2 separate regions of the Homo sapiens genome follow, and region 1 is linked to region 2. The links are contacts of gene promoters, found by promoter capture Hi-C in blood cells and fetal thymus (Javierre and others, 2016). All regions are on one chromosome and are shown on one strand. The core of a region is centred on a gene start or on the middle of the fragment in contact, and the rest is flanking DNA. Distances in the headings are between cores, read along the strand shown. Region 1 holds the start of ZNF283 (zinc finger protein 283). Region 2 holds the start of ZNF567 (zinc finger protein 567).

What was found. Contacts are between HindIII fragments. The CHiCAGO score rates a contact against its expected background, and 5 or more counts as called.
Region 1: the fragment with the promoter of ZNF283 here is called in contact with the fragment with the promoter of ZNF567 in region 2 in 5 of 17 cell types (non-activated CD4 T cells, activated CD4 T cells, total B cells and 2 more); the score reaches 10.3 in non-activated CD4 T cells.

What each region holds. Positions count from the first base shown.
Region 1 is chr19:43,823,721-43,828,870 of GRCh38, forward strand. It overlaps ZNF283 (zinc finger protein 283), which reads left to right and starts at 3,601. Exons shown (of 7, transcript NM_181845.2): 1 at 3,601-3,724; 2 at 4,482-4,561. RefSeq lists an enhancer at 3,459-3,658. The HindIII fragment of the contact is 6,325 bases long and covers 1-5,150 here.
Region 2 is chr19:36,684,617-36,689,908 of GRCh38, forward strand. ZNF567 (zinc finger protein 567) reads left to right here and starts at 2,996. Exons shown (of 6, transcript NM_001322917.1): 1 at 2,996-3,018; 2 at 4,781-4,881. It overlaps ZNF567-DT (ZNF567 divergent transcript), which reads right to left and starts at 2,833. Exons shown (of 4, transcript NR_110708.1): 1 at 2,652-2,833; 2 at 2,070-2,190; 3 at 1,221-1,399; 4 at 823-895. RefSeq lists enhancers at 2,803-2,852, 3,413-4,052 and a silencer at 3,053-3,112. The HindIII fragment of the contact is 4,431 bases long and covers 2,477-5,292 here.

The sequences.
Region 1 (5,150 bases), core at 2,351-4,850, 7.1 Mb after region 2:
TCCACTTACAACCTTTCTGAGAGTAACTTTACATAAATATTTAAGAGAAGCATCTCTTTTAATTCAGGAATCCATTTCTAGAAATGTAGTCCAATTCGGCAAAGTTTCCGACGTACACAAATTAGTAGCTCTTCTATGCACCAACAGCGACCAAGCTGAGAATCAAATCCAGAACTCAACAACTTTTACAACATCTGCAAAAATAAAATAAGATAAAATACTTAGGAATATACCTAACCAAGGAGGTGAAAGACCTCTACGAGGAAACTTCAAAACACTGCTAAAAGAAATCATAGATGACACAAACAAATGGAAACACATCCCATGCTCATGGATGGGTAGAATCAAGATTGTAAAAATGATCATACTGCCAAAAGCAACCTACAAATTCAAAGCAATTCCCATCAAAATACTGCCATCATTCTTCACATAACTAGAAAAAACAACCCTAAAATTCATATGGAACCAAAAAAGAGCCCGCATAGCCAAAGCAAGACAAAGCAATGGAGGCATCCCATTACCTGATTTCAAACTATAAGGTCATAGTCACCAAAACAGCATAGTACTGGTATAAAAATAGGCACATCGACCAATGGAACAGAATAGAGAACCCGTAAATAAACCCAAATACAGTCAACTGATCTTCAACAAAGCAAACAAAAACATAAAGTGGAGAAAGGACGCCCTATTCAACAAATGGCACTGGGATAATTGGCTAGCCACATGTAGGAGAATGAAACTGGATCTTCATCTCTCACCTTATACAAAAATCAACTGAAGATGGTTAAGGACTTAAATCTAAGACCTGAAACTGTAAAAATTCTAGAAGATAACATTGGAAAAAGCCTTCTAGACATTGGCTTAGGCAAGGATTTTGTGACCAAGAACCCAAAAGCAAACGCAATAAAAACAAAGGGCCTGGGACTTAATTAAACTAAAGAGCTTCTGCGTGGCTAAAGGAACAGTCAGCAAAGTAAACAGACAACCCACAGAGCGGGAGAAAAATTTCACAATCTGTACATCTGACAAAGGACTAATATCCAGAATCTACAAAGAACTCAAATTAGCAAGAAAAACAAACAATCCCATCAAAAAGTGCGCTAAGGACATGAATACACAATTCTCAAAAGAAAATATACAAATGGCCAACAAACATAAGAAAAAATGCTCAACATCACTAATGATCAGGGAAATGCAAATCAAAACCACAGTACAATACCATCTTACTCCTGAAAGAATGTCTATAATGGAAAAAAAAATAGATGTTGCCGTGGATGCGGTGAACAGGGAACACTTCTACACTGCTGGTGGGAATGTAAACTAGTAAAACCGCTATGGAAAACAGTGTGGAGATTCCTTAAAGAACTAAAAGTAGAACTACCATTTGATCCAGCAATCCCACTACTGGGTATCTAGAGGAAAATAAGTCATTATACAAAAAAGATACTGGTACACACATATTTACAGCAGCAGAATTCACAATTGCAAAAATGCTTAACAACCCAAATGTCCATGAATCAATGAGTGGATAAAGAAACTGTGGTAGATATATACAGTTGAATACTACTCAGCCATAAAAAGGAATGAATTAATGCATTTGCCTGGATTTATTTATTTTTCCTTTTTTTTTTAAGATGGAGTTTCCCTCTTGTTGCCCAGGCTGTAGTGCAATGGCGCTATCTTGGCTTACTGCAACCTCCACCTCCCAGGTTCAGGCAATTCTCCTGCCTCAGCCTCCTGAATGGCTAGGATTATAGACACCCACCAGCGTGCCCGGCTAATTTTCGTATTTTTAGTAGAGACAGGGTTTCATCATGTTGGCCAGGCTGGTCTTGAATTCTTGACTTCAGGTGATCCAGCTGCCTCAGCCTCCCAAAGTGCTGGGATTACAGGTGTGAACCACCATGCCCGGCCTGGAGACTATTATTCTAAGTGAAGCAACTCAGGAATGGAAAATCAAACATCGTATATTCTCACTCATAAGTGGGAGCTAAGGTGTGAGGATGCAAAGGCCTAAGAATGACACAGTGGACTTTGGGGACTTGGGGGAAAGGGTGGAAAGGGGGTGAGGGATAAAAGACTAAAAATTGGGTGCCATGTACACTGTTCAGGTGATGGGTGCACCAAAATCTCACAAATCACCACTGAAGAAGTTACTCATGTAACCAAACACCACCTGTTTCCCAAAAACCTATGGAAATAAAAAATTAAAAAAAAATCAGACCCCCAAAATATTCAGAGTAGTACTTGTGGGAGTCATTGAGCAAGTAACATGGGAAGAGAGGAGGCTGCTTCCACCAGTGGTTTTGGAGGTGGAGCAGATGCTGATGATAATGAAGTCCCAGATGGGAAACGGGGATGGGTGCCGAGGAAAGCTCAAGGACCCTGCAGATGAGGACTCAGACCCACGATACTGGATGAGGCATCCATGTCACCATGGGAGTCAACCAGGGTAGTGGCCTCAGCTGAGGCAGGGGAAAAGCTGGGATCCAAGAGCTCTAGTCTTCTCTTGATAAGCAAGAGAGACCAGGAGGTGAGAGATGGCAGAGGATGAGAGAGGTGATATCAGTGACCAGAAAGAGCCCCTAAAAAGTAACTTCCTTTTCTTTCTGTTAGTTTTAATATAAAATTTCGCTTTAATATTTTTAGACAATTCTTTTTTAAAAAAGTATTTATATCCAAAGGTTCTTACCACACCAACCACAGCCCCAATCTTTTTGCCCTAACCTCAGAATCAGTTAGTTGTCTCCTTTAAAACCTTTCTCTCTCTCACACACCCACACACACACACACGCAAACACACAGGAGAGAGAGAGAGGGAATATATAGTATTGTTTTTGGAGTATGAGTGTGTGCTTCAGAATAAATGGTTTCATACTCTATAAAAAATGAGATTCAAATTTTATAATCCATCAAGTTTTATTGGAACACAGCCATGCTGGATTGCTTGTGCATTGTTTATGGCCGCCTTTGCACTGCCATAAGTCTCCACGGTCACAATATCCACTCACTACCACTTATTGTTGTCTTTCAACAGCGGCATATAAAATCTGTAACACAGTTCATCTCACACCTAATAAAACAGACTCACACAGGCATAAATTTAGAAAACATCCCATGAACATAAACAGGTCCACGCAGGGTCCCAGACACCGAATCGAACTAAGAAACTCCCTCACAGCAAGACACACCCATCTGTTCAATTGCCAGACACTGTTCCAGGCGCTCATACCCAGGTAAACTGGTAGTGTCGCGCAGGTCATTTCCAGCGAACTTACCCCGGATTCCCTTGCTCGCTCACGTCTAAGTCCCCAGACACCCCAGTCCCATCTTCGCCTGTTCTAGACTCCAGAATGCGTTCCTTAGCGAAAGCTGAGAACCTTTTAATTCGCTCTCAGTCAACACCAAAGACCCTCAAGCAAAAGCAAGAGCTCCCGGGCGTCTTCGAAAAAAGCGCCTTTGACAGGTGAAGCCAAGTTGCATGCTGGGAGCATCCCTGCTGTCCAGGTTTCAACTTCCGGAGACTCTGCCGCTGTGGACTACATTTCCCAGAAGTCTCCGGGGCACAGGCCTTTTAGGGGCGGGGCGAGCTTGCCTGCCAGAAGCTCCTCTCCCAGCCTGCGAGCATTTCCAGGCTCTTGTTTCCCATCAGCCTCTGGGTCCAAACTAACCACAGGTCTCTGGGTCCTTTTCCGGTGTCCTTAAGGTTCTTGGACTCTGCATGGTGAGTTGGTCGTGTCTGTAGAAGTAATCAGCCCGGGTGAAGCTGGGAGGGCTCGGCTGGCTTTACTGGGGCCCGACTGGAACCGGCAGTGAGGGTGGGGGTGGCATCGGGGGTGCTGGAGGTGGGGAGGGCTGGGTCACGGACAGAGCGTGTCGTGTCCGGATCCTCAAGCCTGTGTGCACGCGAGCAGCCGAGGGACAGTGTGTCTCAGACGGCGTGGCAGGGACGGGGCGTGTCCCCACGGAGGTGGGTGCAGTTGTGAATGTGTGACGGGCTGACAGGGTGCGTGGCCGTATTTGTAAATGTGATTTGCTTTGACCAAATGCTCTAGGTTCCCTTTAGCCTGTCTTCGGGCCTGCCACAATTAAATGACCGCAAGAAAGAAGTCTATGCTAAGCCCCATAATGAACGTTTCAAGCAAGAAGGATGAGAATTTTAGATCTGGAAGTGTCCGCGGGACAGGATCTTGTCAAGACCTGATGGGGAAGTTCTAGAGGTGGGATTCCTAGAAGAGGGGCCTCTAGGAGCTCTTTGGTGGTGAGCTACATGTTTCAGAGCCATTGCAAGCAGACCTCTGTCCCCAAGAATTGCCCTCAACACAGAGACAGACTCTAGCCTCCCTTTTCATTCCGTTTGGTTTTGTGTGGATGAAGGCAGAAGTGGCCCCAGAGGGTGTTTTGCTCTTCTTTTTCTTTTTTAATTAAGTCTGTGACGCGCTAGAAATGCTGATGTCTCATGTTACTGTTTTTTCCCCCAGTGCTGCCAGGTTGCCAGATTTCTAAGAAGGAGTTTGAAGAGGAGAAAAGGATTTTTGCATGTTTAGAAATCAAGGTTCAGGTGAGGTTTTTTATACATACTTTTTAAATACATACACATACAATTACCTTTGCTTCTAGGTCATGAGAACATTTTCTTTCCTTGGCCTGAAATATCTTGACTGGGTTTTCCCAGTTACATGACCCGCCATGCTGGTACATATTTCCTCCCAGTGGCCCCCTATTGTTCTTCTCCACAATTCTTACCCACCTGTTCATATGGCAAATTGTTCAAATACTTCAGTGCATTATGATGCACTGAAGAGTTATAGAAAGGCACCTCTTGTAGATTGCTATTAGAGCATTATTTTATACTATGATTATTTGAAGAGATTAGTAATTAGGTGGTGTTATATAAACATTATTTTTTATCTTTTCTGTAGTCATAATTAAAATTTTTTTTTAACTTTTTTTAGAGACAAGGTCTCACTCTGTTGCCCAGGCTGAGTGCAGTAGTATAGTCATAGCTCAGTGCAACCTTGAAGTCCTGGGCTCAGGTGTTCCTCTGGCCTTGGCGTCCCAAAGTGCTGGGACTGCAGGTGTGAGCCACCATGCCTGGCCCATAGTCATGATGCTTAAAGAAAGGCAAGGTATAAGGGATTTTAAGTAAG
Region 2 (5,292 bases), core at 1,746-4,245:
TGTTAACCAACCTCTTCACGAACTATTGCTCCAAGAAGGAAATCACATCTGGTTTGGACATAAATTAATAGGGTAATTAATAATAAACCCTTCACATAGGCAAAGAAATGGAATTTTGGTCTGATGTGGCTATGGAGAATTGAGACCATTCCTTAATCATCAAGCAGAAAGAAGTCAAGAAAGTATTCTGAAGGATTAGGATGATAACACTTTAGAAATAACACAGGAGAGACGCCCATTTCCAACTCTAGGAATCTTAAACCAGTCCTTCAGAAAGTTACCTAAGAACCCTGAAGTTTCCCTAATCAATCAGGGTGAAGAAAGTAAGATGTTCCCAGAATACAGAATTTGAACTGGAAAGGGGAAAACAGATGTAAAAAGGGAGACCCGGCTGGCCGAGGTGGCTCATGCCTGTAATCCCAACACTTTGGGAGACTGAGGCAGGCAGATCACGTGAGGTCAGGAGTTTGAGACCAGCCTGGCCAACTTGGCGAAACCCCATGTCTACTAAAAATACAAAAATTATCCGGACATGGTGGTGGGCACCTGTAGTCTCAGCTACTCGGAAGGCTGAGGCAGGAGAATCCCTTGAACCTGGGAGGCGGAGGTTGCAGTAAGTCGAGATCACGCCACTGCACTCCAGCCTGGGCGACAGAGCAAGACTCGGTCTCAAAACAAAAAAAGGGGAGACCAAATTGGCTAGTTAAATAAATGTATGTAGGTGTTATATCACACCCCTGAATAATTCCTCCGAATCGGGGTGGGGGTGTCAGTCATCTGTACTCCACCCAGAAGTCAATGCCACATTCCTGAGTCTACATACCCGTGAAATGATAGGAACCCATGTGCCCATAAGGTCCTGGAGGGGAATGCAAAGTTGGTCAAGACATGGGAGCTAGACAGCAAGGAAAAGGAATTGCAAAGGGAAGTTAGTAGTTAAATAAGTTACCACATATCCATGTAATATAATACTAAGATAGACAAATGCAAAGTTGTAGAAAATAGTTAAGGAATATTTTCAAGATACTGTATCAGAGAAATCACTTTACAAAACAGGTTGAACAATACAATTATATCAATATGGTCATTTAAAAAGTCTAGAAAGTTAAACACCTGTTTCAGTTATTTATTGCTATATAACCACCTCAAAAGTTTATGGCTTAAAACAAAAAACAATTAGCTTATTATTTGGGGGGCTTGGCAATTTGGGCTTGGCTTGCCTGAGTGGTTCTTCTGCTGATCATATTCATGTGACAGCTGTCAGCTGTTGGCCTGGTGGAGGCTGGATGGTTCAAGATGGTCTCCCTGAAATTTCTGGCCGTTGTTGCTCACTGGACCTCTCTCTCCAAGTGATCTTTAATGCGCAAGCAAGTTGCTCTTAGCCTTCAGTCATGGTGGTCTCAGGGCAGGAAAAGGGGAAGAGAAAAAGCTGCAAGACTTCCTGAAGCTTTGTCTCAGAAGTCTCACAATATCACTTCCACCACATTCTATTGGTCAAAGCACCTCACAAGGCCCTGCCTAATAGTAACCTAACCACTGACTAGCATTTCAGGAGGAGAAAAAATACTCCCTTGCTGAAAAACAAAATCAAAGAGAACAAAAATAGAAAATACAACAAAACTTCCTTGACCTTGGTTTTCAGATATGCTCAGCAATGGTTCCCTTTCCTCAGGGCTCTTAGAGAACCTCAAGGCAAGGGAGAAGGGGTAAGGAATCATGAGACATCAGACCTTTCTTGGAACCCAGATTGGCTAAATTGGAAAAAATTATTGCCACCACACGAGCTCTCATCATCTACCATAAACATACTCAGATGGAAGTAAAAGGGAGATGGGAGTACTGCTAACCCTTCTTAGTATTCAAGGGAAAGGCCAGGGTCACTGATATCCAGGACTGGGGACTTTCTCAAAATTCACGTTAAGTCTCCTGCGGAGACAGCTCTGGGAATGATGTGGATCACATGGAACCTGACCTCTGAGAGTTCCCAAGGGAGAGCCTCTGAGGAAGGAATCCTACTCCTAGGTTCTCCCCACGACGTCTTCCCAGAACTCTGCTTAAGGGACACTTACAACTCGAAAAGCCTCGTTCCGAAAACAGGTCTGTCCTTTTTCTGTTTGCAGATTTTATTCCACCACTCGATTATCCCTTCCCTTTTTGATGGCCATTTCACTGCAGCTGGGGTCTATACAGCTATAAAGCGGGAGAAAAAAGGAAGCTGGGAACTCAGAGATGCAGAGCCCAAGAAACAATCGAGTCTAAAACTGCCGCTTAGGTGGGCACTCCGCCAGGATCCCCTGTGTCAAACACCAGGCTGAGAACTGGGGACAGGTGTGCCCTGAGAAGACAACGCGGGCCATGCTTCATTGCAAGATGACTCTGCTTAACATAGGCATGGATCATAGTCCTCACAGGCACATTGGGGAGATCTTCGACAGACCCCTCAGTCCCAACATTAAACACAGCACTGCAGAAATGAAGCTTTACCCGTTACACACACAACACCACAGACCTAAAAGGCTCTTCCATCACACGGCCACAGCAGCACTGTCATGATGGAAGGTCTCAAACCCTACAGTGTCACACACCCGACAGCCGACCACGGCCACCCAAAGGTCCCGCATCCGAGCAGGGACAGGAACACAATCACGCACCTGTCGCAGCCTCCTCGCCGCGCACACCGCCGCCTTGTCCTGGCATCAAACACACACGCACAGGTGCATACACAGGCCCGAGCTACGGCCCTGCACACCCTGTCTGCGTCCCGGGAGCTCGGGGCTTCCTCACCGTGAGCGCCGCCCTCATCCCAGCCACGCACTATGAGAATTTGGAAGGGGAACCAGAGATCAAAGTTCGAAAACCGCCCGGGCGCCTGTGGGAAATGTAGTCCAAGGCCGGAAACGCCCGGATGTGGAGAAGGCGCGCGTAGCCGGTGGACAGCAGGAACGCGCCGCGGAGACACCTGGGAGGCATCGTCCGCGTGGGAGTGCGCATGCGCAGACGCCCGGCCGGCAACCGAAGGTGAGGCTGGTGGGTCCCGCGGGCGCGGAGAAGGCGGGTGACGGTGTGACCCGTAAGGAAGGCTGAGGAGGGAGGCGGGAGCCTGGGCTGGGGAAAGCAAGAAGGGAAGAGGAGCAACCTGGGACGAGGAGTTGGCTGGAGGAAAGTGCGAGTCCGGGCCTCAGAGAAGGCTGGGAGGGAAGCAGGAACCAGAGCGCGGGCCCGGGAGCACCTGAAGAAGGGAACCGGTTGCCCGAGGCGGGGGGTGAGCTCCCCAGTGGCAGGAATTTCGTCTGATTTTCGTCCCCTGGCTCCTGGAGCACGGCCTGGCACACAACAGGCGCTCCGTGTGTGTGTGTGTGGCTTTTCGTACCTGTCCTGTGTGTTGTGGTAGGGGAATGTGTTATTCTGTGTGACGTTGTGGAACCGGTTGTTTATGAAAGTGATAGGGTCCCTGCGTGTCTTAAGTTTTAATTTAAATTAGATGCGAGTCGATTTGTGTTTGAGCCTGTGTCCGACTCTGGAGAGGCGACAGTGAGGGCATTGTGAGTGAAAGGTTGTTACTTTTTGTAGAAGTTCTGTGAAATTGTGCACGACGTGGGGGCCTATGGGATTATGACTATGTAGTGGGTGATACAGCTATGAATATGCCTAATTTTAAAAGTATTTGGTGTACACGACCTATGATGACTGTGAATGTGGCACACTGTGTGACTTAGGTGGAGTGCTTGAGAAACCGAGTGTTGACTAAAGTATGCATTGTTTAGATTGATTTATGAGTATTGGGCATTTTATATATGCCTGTAGAATTTGACTCTGGTAATTAGACAAGTAAAATAAGTAGTGATTTTTTTTTTTTAATGGAGAGGAAGAGGCAAAATAATTTTCAGAGGGTAAGATTGGGCCCATGCGGGCCGGGCGCGGTGGCTCACGCCTGTAATCCCAGCACTTTGGAAGGCTGAGGCGGGCCGATCACGACGTCAGGAGATCGAGAACATCCTGGTTAACATGGTGAAACCCCGTCTCTACTAAAAATACAAAAAATTAACCGGGCGTGGTGGCGGGCGCCTGTAGTCCCAGCTACTTGGGAGGCTGAGTCAGGAGAATGGCGTGAACCCGGGAGGCGGAGCTTGCAGTGAGCCGAGATCGTGCCACTGCAATCCAGCCTGGGTGGCAGAGCAAGACTCCGTCTCAAAAAAAAAAAAAAGATTGGGCCCATGCGCGGTGGCTCACGCCTGCAATCCCAGCACTTTGGGAGGCTGGGGCGGACAGATCACCTGAGGTCAGGAGTTTGACCAGCATGGTGAAACCCCGTCTCTACTAAAAAATATAAAAATTAGCTGGGCATGATGGCGCATGCCTGTAGCCCCAGCTACTCGGGAGCTGAGGCAGGGGAATCGCTTGAACTCGGAGGTGGAAGTTGCAGTGAGCCAAGATCGCGCCACTGCACTCCAGCCTGGGCGACAGAACGAGACTCCGTCCCTTCCCTTCCAAAAAAGATCATTTATTGGGAAACCTGGTATTGACTGATGACTGATATGCTTAAATGAATAGAATACCACTGGGACCACACAGAAAAAAACTTTATCTCATAACTGCCACTCTCAAAATTCCTATTTGAGAGTGTGTGTGTGTGTGTGTGTGTGTGTGTGTGTGTGTGTATTTATTTTTTTTTTTGCTGGATGAATTTCTTCTGCTGGAAGCCTGAAATGTGAAAGGATACATGATTAGTTTCTTCTCTAATTCCCCAACCTTTATTTTGTCTCCTCTTTACTCCCTATAGGCAGTCTTTAGCTCTCATGGATTGGGAGCTGGGAAAGGAATGAGAAGACAGAAGTCAGAGACAAGAAGAGGCTAACATGACTGATACCACTATAATTTAGTGTAAGTCATCTCTTACCTTCCAAGAGAACCTGCTGCTTGGAACCTCCAGATACACTTCCCTTCTCATGGGCATAGCCTCTTCTCCAGCTGCTGCCCCAGTGCTTCCTCTGGGCATTCAGTGGCCCACCGACTCTGGTGGGTGGGTTTGTCCAGTCATTCCTCTTTGATAGGACCCAAGACAACCCAGACAGCCTCCACCCATGGGGTCTTCACCTAGTGCTAAGGTGAGAATTAGCCACCTCAGTCACTTTGCCCTCCCAAATCTTAGAAATATGTAAAATTTTTGCCAAGAATTCTCTCACCACTTTGGTTCCTGGTGGCCTCAGGGTCTGAGGGACCCCTTGTGTGTTGTAAAAAAGGGAGAATCACTCACGTTTTTCCCCCTGGAAAAACACTGTTCTAAAAATAACA